Linked DNA regions of Homo sapiens: regions 1, 2 and 4 are each linked to region 3. Evidence: promoter capture Hi-C in 16 types of primary human blood cells and fetal thymus (Javierre and others, 2016). All regions are on one chromosome and are shown on one strand. The core of a region is centred on a gene start or on the middle of the fragment in contact, and the rest is flanking DNA. Distances in the headings are between cores, read along the strand shown.

Region 1 (2,700 bases), core at 39-2,538, 230 kb after region 3:
CAATCAGATGGAGTTGTGGTATCACTCCATGGCAGGATCCAGTCAGACCATGCCTTCTGGCATCACCTCACTGCAAGATCCAGTCAGATCACACTTCATTACTTTACGCTAATAAAACCCTACCTAGCCTCCAACTCCTTTTCTCAAAAGCCAAGGCCTTGATATTGGCTTGTATGCACATGGGACTGCAAGCCCATTGACCGCTTGGTAACAAGAGGAGGAAGGATAGTTTGCCGTGCTCTGACACTGCTTCAGCACCTTTTTCTTTCTCGCTCTGAAATAGATCTTCCACTTATGGAGAATGGGCCCTTTCCTACCACCCTAGAAGCTGGGAATGGGTGAGTCTGCACTCTGTTACTAAGACATTCAAATGTGTGACCTTAGCTGACAATCACTCTATCCCTACAAGGTAGGGCATGGTATCCTTACTCTCATTTTATAGATGGAGAAACAGAAATCAGTGATATATTTCCATCTAGGTTCTTGAATGATCACTTGGAGCAAATCTTGCCAGTGCTAATCATCAGAAACCTTACCTTTTCTTTGTAGGAGCAAAAAAGGACTCCTGTTCTGATGAGGTAGTATTCCTTCTAGAGTCAGTCATAGCAGGTGGCATTTTCCTAACTAATACACTAAAGATGATTGAGAACAGGCGACATAAGTAAATGAGGATCCAGGTGAAACTGTGAAGGAATATTACTTGTTTTCAAAGTATATTTTAAACACATATACCTTCTGTATTGGCAGGTGTGTGGGAAAGCAGACTCTCTGAGGCATGGCTGGTGTGAGTATAAATTGATTTAGTCTTTTTCTGAAGGTAACGAACAACATCTATAAAAATCAAGAATTCCCATAGCCTGATTCATCAGCTACTCTTTAGCAATTTACTTTGTAGTCATTCTCTAGAAGTATTCTGGAAAGACATGTTTAAAGGTATTCATCGTGATATTAATGATAAAATTTGGAAAACACATCATTTAGGTACAAACATCATAGCTGCTATGTATGGCAGTAGTTGGCCTATTTTCATAGTATAGTATTCCATTGCATGATTATTTTATTTCATTTTTTTCATTATTTCATTTTTGTTTTCATCATTATTTTATTTCATTTTTCTCCTGTTGATGGACATTTGGCTATTTCCAGTCTAGGGCTCTGGTAAATGCTACTGCACATCACATAAGCGTTTGTTTCTTTTGGGTGGAGTGGTGAGGTCCTAGCATGTGTGGATATTTATCTACTAAAGATCCTGCTGGCCAGTGCAGTGGCTCACATCTGTAATCCCAGCACTTTGGGAGGCCGAGGCGGGCAGATCACCTGAGGCCAGGAGTTCAAGACCAGCCTGGCCAACATGGCGAAACCCCCGTCTCTACTAAAAATATAAAAAATTAGCCAGGCATGGTGGTGGGCGCCTGTAATCCCAGCTACTCGGGAGGCTGAGGCAGGAGAATTGCTTGATGTCGGGAGGCGGAGGCTGCAGTGAGCCGAGATTGCGCCGTTACACTCCAGCATGAGCTACAAGAGCAAAACTCCATTTCAAAAAAAAAAAAAAAAGATCCTGCCAAACTACTTGCAAAGTGGCTGCACCAATTTAGATTCCCATCAGCAGCGGGGATGTTACTCCTGGTATTGTCAGTCTTTTTCATTTGATGGGTCTATGGGTCTGTACTGGTATCTTAGTGTGTGTGTGTGTGTGTGTGTGTGTGTGTGTGTGTGTGTGTGTGTGTGTGTGTGTTTGAAACAGGGTCTCACTCTGTCACCCAGGCTGGAGTGCAAGGGGTGCAATCACGGCTCACTGCAGCCTCCATCTTCTGGGCTCAAACAATCCTCACACCTTAGCCTCCCAAGTATCTGGAACTACAGGTGTGTGCCCCCATGTCCAGCTAATTTTTAAATATTTTTTAGAGATGGGGTCTCACTATTTAGTCCAGGCTGGTCTTGAACTCCTGGGCTCAAGCGATCTTCCTGCCTCAGCCTCCCAAAGTGCTGGGATTACAGGTGTGAGCCACTGCACCCCGCCTTGTGTTTTTATTTGCTTCTGCCTGATCACTGATGAGATTGAGCACCTTTTCAGGCATGTTGGCCATCTGGGTATCCTCTTACAGTTTTTGTTGTTGTTGTTGTTGTTGTTGTTTTGTTGTTGTTGTTGTTTTGAGACGGAGTTTCGCTCTTGCTGCCTAGGCTGGAATGCAATGGCGCGATCTCGGCTCACTGCAACCTCCGCCTCCCAGGTTCAAGTGATTCTCCTGCCTCAGCCTCCCAAGTAGCTGGGATTACAGGCATGCACCACCATGTGCGGCTAATTTTTTTGTATTTTTAGTAGAGACAGGGTTTCACCATGTTGCCCAGGCTGGTTTCAAACTCCTGACCTCAAGTAATCCGCCCATCTCGGCCTCCCAAAGTGCTGGGACTACAGGCATGAGCCACAGCGCCCCACCCCTTTTACAGTTTATAAGACCATACACTTAAGTTCCCTCCACCAGACCACATGAATAACAACATTTGTGTGTGAAAATTAAGATAACCAGTGTATAAAGGGACCAGCAAGGTGCCAGCTCCAGTCCTAGACAATACGGCATCCCTCAACCCCTTTCCCGTGTCCACAGTTCTCAGCTTGGTACCTGGCAGGCAGCAGCACACGGCCTGTGTCAACACTGGGCTATCCTGTAGATGATCGCAGGCCAGGAAGGGAGAAGCCAC
Region 2 (2,700 bases), core at 19-2,518, 170 kb after region 3:
AACACTACAAACTTGTAATACTTAGCTGTATCACCAGCAAACCATGTCCTTCCCAATTTCAGGACCTTTCAATGTGCTTTCCTCTGCCTGGGGGTGGGTGGGGGGTGGAGAGTAGTTTCCTCCCAACCCATGAAACCTCTCCACAAAGGTAGAAGAGACAGAAAACCATTACTGAATAAGTATTAAACCAGATTGTGATGCCGTACATCACATGCAACCTGCTAAAGGCAACACAAAGACAGAAACTCACTTTTTCTATGCAGCTAAGTAGAGATAGCCCATCACATTATGTAGGTTTTGCAATTTGGAGTCAGGTGCCAAGTTAAGCCTTTGTCCTCCTAAGAAGCTGGACTCTTGGCCCTTTCGTCCCTTAACAATTGCATTTTTTTCTTTCTTTGTTTTTGAGACAGAGTCTCGCTCTGTCTCCAGGCTGGAGTGCAGTGGTGCTATGTCGGCTCACTGCAACCTCCGCCTCCCGGGTTCAAGCGATTCTCCTGCCTCAGCCTCCCGAGTAGCTGGTACTACAGGCACGCTTCACCATGCCCAGCTAATTTTTGTATTTTTAGTAGGGACAGAGTTTCACCATGTTGGCCAGGATGGTCTCGATCTCTTGATCTTGTGATCCGCCCGCCTCAGCCTCCCAAAGTGCTGGGATTGCAGGCGTGAGCCACCGCACCCAGCCAACAATTACACTTCAAGGAGATGGCTCCCAAGAAACATTCCTGAGTTGAACCTGGCCATATAAGAAAAAGACTTGAGTACATTTGGAAAGGAGAGAGGCTGAAATTTTGAAAGAAAAAGGGAGGGGGATGGTTTCTCGTCCCTTCTTTTCCTCAGGGAAAATTAAACCCTATGTATAATTTGTATTTGCCCTTCCACCTGCATCACCTTTCCCACATGCTCCCACAGGCAGGCTCCTGTTCATTCCCAAGGCTCCGTGTCCACATCGTGCTTGGATTCCGCCCGGCCCCGCCTGTGCGGCCGCACCAGGAAGGCACCACCCATTAGGGGCTCAGCGCGTCCCTCCAGGCCACGCCGTCAGGCCTCCGTCCTTTTAGCTGTAGGGGCAGATTACGTAACTCCAGCCTTCTGGTCACTAAAGGAGGGTAACAAAGGGCGGTCGAGAGACTCCACTGAGTTGACACGCAGACGCAGCCTCAGGACCCTAAACTCTACGCCCCAGCACACCCTACCAAGCGAGCGCCCGCGGCCGCGTGACGTCATCTACCCCAAACGCTGTGGCCCCGGCCACGCACGGCTTCGGGGCGGGACTACGCGGTGACGTCGAGGTGCGCGGCGCAGCGCGCGGCGTCAGTCTTGGCTGGCAGACCTGTACTCCGTACTCCGTACTTCGTAGTCGCAGCGGCGCGGTCTTCGGCAGTCTAGTCATCCACCGCCATCCTGGGCCCCACGTGTTGCCTGACCATTCCTGAGCCCAGGTAGGGGTCCTGGGGGATTGGGTTCAGTGGCGGGCGGCGTGGGAGGCTGGGCCGCAGTGAGTGGGGGCACCAGTGATTCTTGGAGACCAAGCCTTCACTACACGTGCTACTTCCTCTCAAGAGGCGGTTGAGCGCGTTCGGAACATTTTACCCGGAGGAGACTCGGGGATTACTTGATGAGTAACCTCGTGCTTCTCTTTCAGCCGAGAAGTGGGGCTTCTGCATGACCTGGGTGGACCCCAGTAGGTGGGATGGGACGTGTGGTCAGGAGGGACCTCACCGGAAGGCATGGGGTGGCGTGTAGACCTGCCGCAAGAGAGGCTGTAGAGTGGGCCAGGCGTTGCAAGGAGCTAGAGCTGGATAATGGTTCAGAGGCACAAGCTGAAGCTAACTGCGTTTGGAGCTAACTGCATTTGTTCCCTTCTAGGTGGGAGCCGTGGCTGAGGTGACGGTCTCAAAGTGGAAGAGCTTACTGTCACAGCAACTCCTTTGCAAGATGCCCCGGTAAATCACGTTGCAGAGACCCCAACTCTGCCTTCCTGGAACTAGGCCTGCGTTTTCTCTGAACCATTATTTCATGGGGAAAATGAAATCTACTTCATGTGCCTGGTCTACTTACTCCTTCAGAAGTGATTTCTGAGCCGTAAGATACATGAGAAAAAAATGAAGGGGAAAAGGCAGTATTTATATTAACTACATGATGATAAGGATGTTTCTGGTCACAGTGAAAAGCCATGCTAGAATTGTAGTGTCATAGAATAATGTGGAAGTTTAGTTCGTGTTGTCTGATCTATTTAATAATTTAATAAGGTTATCTCTTCCAAGACACCTTCCCTTCTTCCTCAGCCAGAAAGGATCTTTCCCTGAGAGTCATTAGTAGCTCTGGGCTCCTGGAACCAAGCTCAGGTGCCTAATTGAACTCTGGTCTCTTCCCACAGCCCCCAGCAGGGACTGGTGCTTAGTGAGAGTGGACTGCCAGATTCCTTGAGTGTGGGGGATTTGGGTGAATGAGGGTAGCAAGCCTCCAGCGTGCTTGGGTCTGCGGTGACCCTATGCATTCCTTCAGTGCTTGCTAGAACAGTTTTGAAACGGTTTGAGGCCTTGCCCTGCTCCATCCAGAGCAAGGTTATAGAAATTTCAGACAATGACTTCCTCCCTCCTGGATCTAGTGTCCTGGGCCTTGTATAGATCCGTGCCATCTAATGTGGTAGCCACTTGGCACACATGATTAAATTAAATTTGGAGTTTTATTTCATTTTCA
Region 3 (2,700 bases), core at 109-2,608:
GGAACTGGGTCCACGAGAGACAGGATTATTAAGGGGGGATTCTGTGCAGGCGGAAGCCTGTGGTCCTTCTCAATTTGATACTGGAGATGATCAGGAAAGCCTCAGCTTCTCCCAGAATGAATTGAGAGGACCTTCCTTCCACTATAGCGACCAAGATCTCCACCTAAGGGGCGCTCACTGGAAGTTTGCTGAAATCCCAAATCAGCATGCTCCTGATTTCAGAAGCTGCCATCCACCTTTGCACTTCAACACAAAATCCACCACATCCTAGGCTCCAGCCCTGGAACACCAAATGAAGCCACACAAGTTCTGCACACCAAGACCTCTTCAATGGAAGGAAAATGACCACTGAGTTTGGTCCACCCTTTTCCCACCTCCCGTACCAAATCCCAAATCATCAAAACAGGCCCAACTCTGCATCTTACAGCCAGGGAAACTGGGGACCACCAGGCCAGGGCCCTCCATCACCAATGTCCCCCCCAGAACTGGCCAGGCTCAGTCACCACTCAGTGGACCCCAGCCCTCAGCAAGCACTCTTCCCCAACAGCCTTTACACACATTCTCTCTCTCTCTCTCTCTCTTACTTTTTCTTGGATAATTTCTTTAGCAAGGTACTTCAAAACAAGCTTTTAGTTTAATCTATTTCCATTTTGTGAGCAATGGTTCTTCCTAGAGTCCTGATTTCTTGCCGAAGAAGGCATTAGGAGAGGATGGCTCAGAGAGTCGCCCCGCTTCCCCTCTCAGCCAGTTCCAGGACACACACAGGCGTCCACACACTGAGGGGCCCTGGGAGGACCAGCTACCCAGTCCGGAGTCCACCCGCCCACGCCCCTGTGAGTGGTGGGCAGGCACTCAATGCCAGGACAGAGAGCTCACTACCTTACAGACAGCCCACCCTGGGGGATAAGGGGTAAAGAGCCAGACCTGGTCCACCTCTTCTCGCCCACCCTGAGGCGACCCCAGAACCGGGGCGTGGGGGGACATCACAACTAGAAGGACCGGGGGCTGCCGGACCCTGCCGTCAGAAGACCCCGGAGGGGGCCCTGTGCCTCCCTTGCCCGCCAGAGTCCTTCGCCTTCAGCTTCTCCCGGGTGGAACCCTCCCGCAGAGCCTGGGAATCCCGCCAGGGTCACTGTGCGCCCCTCCCGAGCTCCGGGGCAAGGGAAGGACCGCGGCGCAGGTGCGGGAAGGCGCGGGTCCACCCGGGTCCGGTGAACCCCGAGGAGTGGGGGCGCCCCCGGTGCGGGCCGTCGCCCCCTTACCGCAGAGCAGCAGCAGCAACGGGAGAAGTTGCGGGCGCCGCAGCGCTCCAGTCTCCATGGCTGGCCGGCCGCAGCTGGGTCACGCTCGGTCCCGCTGGGGGCGCGGCTGGGGGACGCCCGGTTGGGGTTGGGGTGGGGCGGGGCCTCAGGGGGTCCGCCCTCAGGCCGCACCCCCAGACCACGCCTGCGGCCGTGCCCCGTTGCCTCCAGATGTGGGGTGCAGTCCCTGCAGGCGCGCCGGGTGGGAGGGATGGGGGCGGCTGGAGTCTCAGCGGGGTGAGAGGGGGGCGAGGGCAGGGTTTCGAGCTGGGGACAAGCTGGGGTAAGGTGGGGTGCCGGCTGATGGGCTCTGAGGGCGGGGCTGGGGTGCTGAGCTGCAAAGGAGCTTTTTGGGAGCAGATTGTAGGGGCAGACTGGGAGGTGAGCTGGGGTGAGCGTGGGGGCCGGCTGACGGTGGGCTGGGATGCAGGCTGGAGAGACTTGGGGAACTTCCGTCCAGGCTCAGGGGCAGAGGGTGGGGGTAGACCGGGGAGGGAGCTGAGGTGAGGATGAAGCGCTGGCTGATGATGGCCTAGAGGAGTCTGGGGGTAGACTGGAGGAAGGTGGACCTGGGAGTGGGCTAGGTGTGCCCTGGCCGAAAGTAGACCAGAGTCCAGAGCTGCCCCCAGGCAGGGAGGGGAACTTTGAGCAGAGATACATCTAGGAGCCAGGTCTCCAAAGGTCAGGAAAGTGCATAAAAGAGGTTGGGGGGTGTGTGTGTGTGCGTCTGTGTGTGTGCGTGTGTGTGTTGTTCATGGAGTACGTGTGTGTGATGTGCATGTGGGGTGTGTGTAGATGCATGTGTGTGCATGGAGTGTGTGATGTATGGTGTGTGTGTGGCATGTGTGTGTTTGAGTCTGAGACAAGGTGTGTTTGTGAGTGTATGCTTGGGAAACAGTGTGTATGAGAGAGACTGGAGGGTGTGGCAACTACACACACAGAGACGTATCACACACCAAGAACCAAGCCACAAGCAAACCAAGGGACAGGAGAGTATCTGGCACCACCAAAGACCTGGCCTTGAAGAGTGTCAGGGTCCCTGAGGCGAAGGAGGGCCTCAGTTTCTCCAGCCACAGGTCACTTGGCCAGATGGGTCACCTCTGTCACCCTCAGCCCCTAGCACAGGCCCTGGCTCCAGTGGACACTTAATGGTGTCTTAAGAATTGTCACTGGTCAGGACTTCCGAGAGCCAGCTAGAGGCACCTCTCTGCCCTCCAGGGCCCACCCACCACCCCTGGGGGCACATGCTGGTCTGAGGTTGGGGCACAGGCCCAGGCTCCTACATGGATGGGCCCTCCACTCCTCTGAGCCGTAGGTACTGCTACCTTCCCAGGAGCTGAGCTGAACTTCTCCTGGCTTAGAAAGACCCACTTTATTTAACAAGACCCTTATTCGGGAG
Region 4 (2,700 bases), core at 78-2,577, 190 kb after region 3:
TTTCACAGGAGTCTCTGCTTGATGGAGACAGGCCAGGGAGTGCTCAATAAATGCTCAGGGCCAGGTTTGGGTCTAAGGGTTAGGGCCTGATTGAATTTGACTGCGTATCCCATCCCACCTGGCCCACCCAGGCATGGCGGGGCACCTTGGCGAGGTGGCGCTGCCGGAGGCTGAGGGCTATCTACACCATCATGCGCTGGTTCCGGAGACACAAGGTGCGGGCTCACCTGGCTGAGCTGCAGCGGCGATTCCAGGCTGCAAGGCAGCCGCCACTCTACGGGCGTGACCTTGTGTGGCCGCTGCCCCCTGCTGTGCTGCAGCCCTTCCAGGACACCTGCCACGCACTCTTCTGCAGGTACTACTCTCAGCCCACCACACATTCCATTCAGCTGGCATCCACTGAATACCTTAACCCATCATCCCGGGCCTGCAGTGCCTGGATGGGAGATACACCAGCCCCCTTGATAGGTGGGAAGGTGGATGCTATGCCACATTAGCTGACTGCTCATGTCCCACAGTTGGTGCAGAGCCCTGACCATCTTGGGTACTGTGGTGGGCATTCAAGGTCCAGGGCTGCAGCCTGCAGGGGGAGGCCCATTAGGGCTGGGAAGTAAGGGGATTCTGCATCTGAGCGGGGTCTTGAGGGCTGAGTAGGAGTTCTCCAGAAGGAGGGGCACAGAGCATGCTCAGAACAGGAGGACACTGGGCGACTGCTGGTCCCTGGGTCACCTTCCAGGAACAAGCGTTAGGCACAAGGGGCCAAGGCCAGAGAGGCCGGCAGAGGTTGGGACATGAAAGGCAGGCAGCACCAGGCTGAGGGCTCAGCTTCCTCTGTGGAGAGGGGGCTCAGGGAGCACATGAACACATGGCCAGCATCTGTCTGACTACATGCCCTCTCCCAGGTGGCGGGCCCGGCAGCTGGTGAAGAACATCCCCCCTTCAGACATGCCCCAGATCAAGGCCAAGGTGGCCGCCATGGGGGCCCTGCAAGGGCTTCGTCAGGACTGGGGCTGCCGACGGGCCTGGGCCCGAGACTACCTGTCCTCTGTAAGTGCCAGGCGAGTCCAGGGCTGCCAGGGGGAAGTGGGCTGCCAAAGAGGGCTCTCGGCTAATGCTGTGACCAGGTCCCCTCAGATGTCCTCTCCCAGGCCTGGGGTTGTCTGTCCTGGTGGCCCTGTACCTCAGCCCCCACCAGAGCTCTGCAAGGTCTCATCCTGGGCTTCAGGAGCAGTGGCCTTCGGGGGTGGGTGTGGATGACAGGAGGGCCAGGCTCAGATGCAGCCTAGAAGTCAACACAAGAGGGCTCTGTGCCCTCAGGAAATCCAGGGCTGCTCAGCTCACGCACAAGTCTGTGTGACTCAGTTTCCCGAGATGAAGGATAGCTATGCTGATTCACAGACAGCTGCTATCAATTGAGTCTGGTCCCATGACTCAATCCCAAGCAGCGCCCCCTCCCCTCCATCTGTCCTCAGGCCACTGACAATCCCACAGCATCAAGCCTGTTTGCTCAGCGACTAAAGACACTTCAGGACAAAGATGGCTTCGGGGCTGTGCTCTTTTCAAGCCATGTCCGCAAGGTTAGACAAGGGACAAGGATGGCTTCAGGGCTGTGCTCTTTTTCTAGCCACGTCTGCAAGGTTAGAAGCTGGTGCAGAGTTTTGGGGGGGCACTTGGGAGAAAATGGAGGCAACCCCAGCCCAGGCCCAGCTGCTCCTGACACTCCCAAAACTGTCGCCAGCGGGGAGGGGAGGCAGTAGGGACTGCCGAAGCCTGGGGCCCTGGTGGGTGACAGGGCAGCACCAGCCTGGGTCCAGCCACCTCTCCCACAGGTGAACCGCTTCCACAAGATCCGGAACCGGGCCCTCCTGCTCACAGACCAGCACCTCTACAAGCTGGACCCTGACCGGCAGTACCGGGTGATGCGGGCCGTGCCCCTTGAGGCGGTGAGCAATGTGGGTGGGGAGTAGGGTGCAGCATCTGTGAGGGGCACTGCTGGGCTGCTCAGAGTCCTGCCTCAGTCTTCTCTCCCCTGTTTACCTGAGATGGCCCAGACCATCCTAAAACTCAGCGATGGTGGCACCCGTGCTGAAAATCCTGCAGTGGCTTCCCACGCCCACAGAGTGAAAGGTCCCATCCTGTGATCCCCACCAGCCCAGTCACCCCCCACCCCCACTCTCACACTCTAGCCAAGCCAAATGGTCCCCTCTTCCAACTTGTGCCCAACTGGGGTTCTCCCACCTGGGCATTCTGGGACCTGAGTACCCACCACAATGTTCTGGGCCTCCTGTGGGATACCGTCCCGGCCACTCCGGAACCTTCTGCCGAGCTCTGTGGCCTACTTGCTCCCTTCATTAGCAGCTGCTGTTCCCATAAATTCTCTTTCCCACAAGACGGGGGTAGGGATCAAGGCCAGGCTACCTCTGGGTCTCCCACAGTTTCAGGGGTCCCATGACTGTCCCAATAGAAAGGGCGGTGAGTGCCTTGCTGTGTAATGCCACAGCCCAAAGCCGGCGTGGTTGTTTAAATGCAGTGAAAGTGACCTAGAACTAAAAACGGCTCCTCCAGGCAGTAGCACATGCAAGGGCTTAGCATCCACAGGTGAGCAGTGGCGGCCCTGTTGGACAGCAAGGATCTAGAACCATCAGTCCTGGAGAAAATCGTATTGTGCAGCGTCCCGCCCAAGCTTCCCCCTGTCAGCAG

Evidence for each region. Contacts are between HindIII fragments. The CHiCAGO score rates a contact against its expected background, and 5 or more counts as called.
Region 1: a contact is called between a fragment that was not itself captured here and the fragment with the promoter of RAMP3 in region 3, in 10 of 17 cell types (non-activated CD4 T cells, M2 macrophages, naive CD8 T cells and 7 more). The highest score is 8.7, in non-activated CD4 T cells.
Region 2: the fragment with the promoter of SNHG15 here is called in contact with the fragment with the promoter of RAMP3 in region 3 in 4 of 17 cell types (erythroblasts, endothelial precursors, total CD4 T cells and 1 more); the score reaches 9.1 in erythroblasts.
Region 4: a contact is called between a fragment that was not itself captured here and the fragment with the promoter of RAMP3 in region 3, in 4 of 17 cell types (endothelial precursors, M0 macrophages, naive CD4 T cells and 1 more). The highest score is 6.9, in endothelial precursors.

The regions. Positions count from the first base shown.
Region 1 is chr7:44,924,280-44,926,979 of GRCh38, reverse strand. No RefSeq gene overlaps it. Among named protein-coding and RNA genes, the nearest start is that of PURB, 40 kb to the right of the region's middle. The HindIII fragment of the contact is 4,333 bases long and covers 1-2,700 here.
Region 2 is chr7:44,985,264-44,987,963 of GRCh38, reverse strand. It overlaps SNHG15 (small nucleolar RNA host gene 15), which reads left to right and starts at 1,268. Exons shown (of 3, transcript NR_152597.1): 1 at 1,268-1,439. It overlaps SNORA9 (small nucleolar RNA, H/ACA box 9), which reads left to right and starts at 2,454; the gene lies at 2,454-2,586. RefSeq lists enhancers at 675-1,422, 1,458-1,577, 1,423-2,169 and a silencer at 2,696-2,700. The HindIII fragment of the contact is 12,531 bases long and covers 1-2,700 here.
Region 3 is chr7:45,156,449-45,159,148 of GRCh38, reverse strand. It overlaps RAMP3 (receptor activity modifying protein 3), which reads right to left and starts at 1,358. Exons shown (of 3, transcript NM_005856.3): 1 at 1,263-1,358. The coding sequence starts at 1,320. The HindIII fragment of the contact is 23,160 bases long and covers 629-2,700 here.
Region 4 is chr7:44,963,292-44,965,991 of GRCh38, reverse strand. MYO1G (myosin IG) reads left to right here. Exons shown (of 22, transcript NM_033054.3): 17 at 132-355; 18 at 903-1,047; 19 at 1,473-1,577; 20 at 1,830-1,943. Among named protein-coding and RNA genes, the nearest start is that of MYO1G, 14 kb to the left of the region's middle. The HindIII fragment of the contact is 2,717 bases long and covers 1-2,685 here.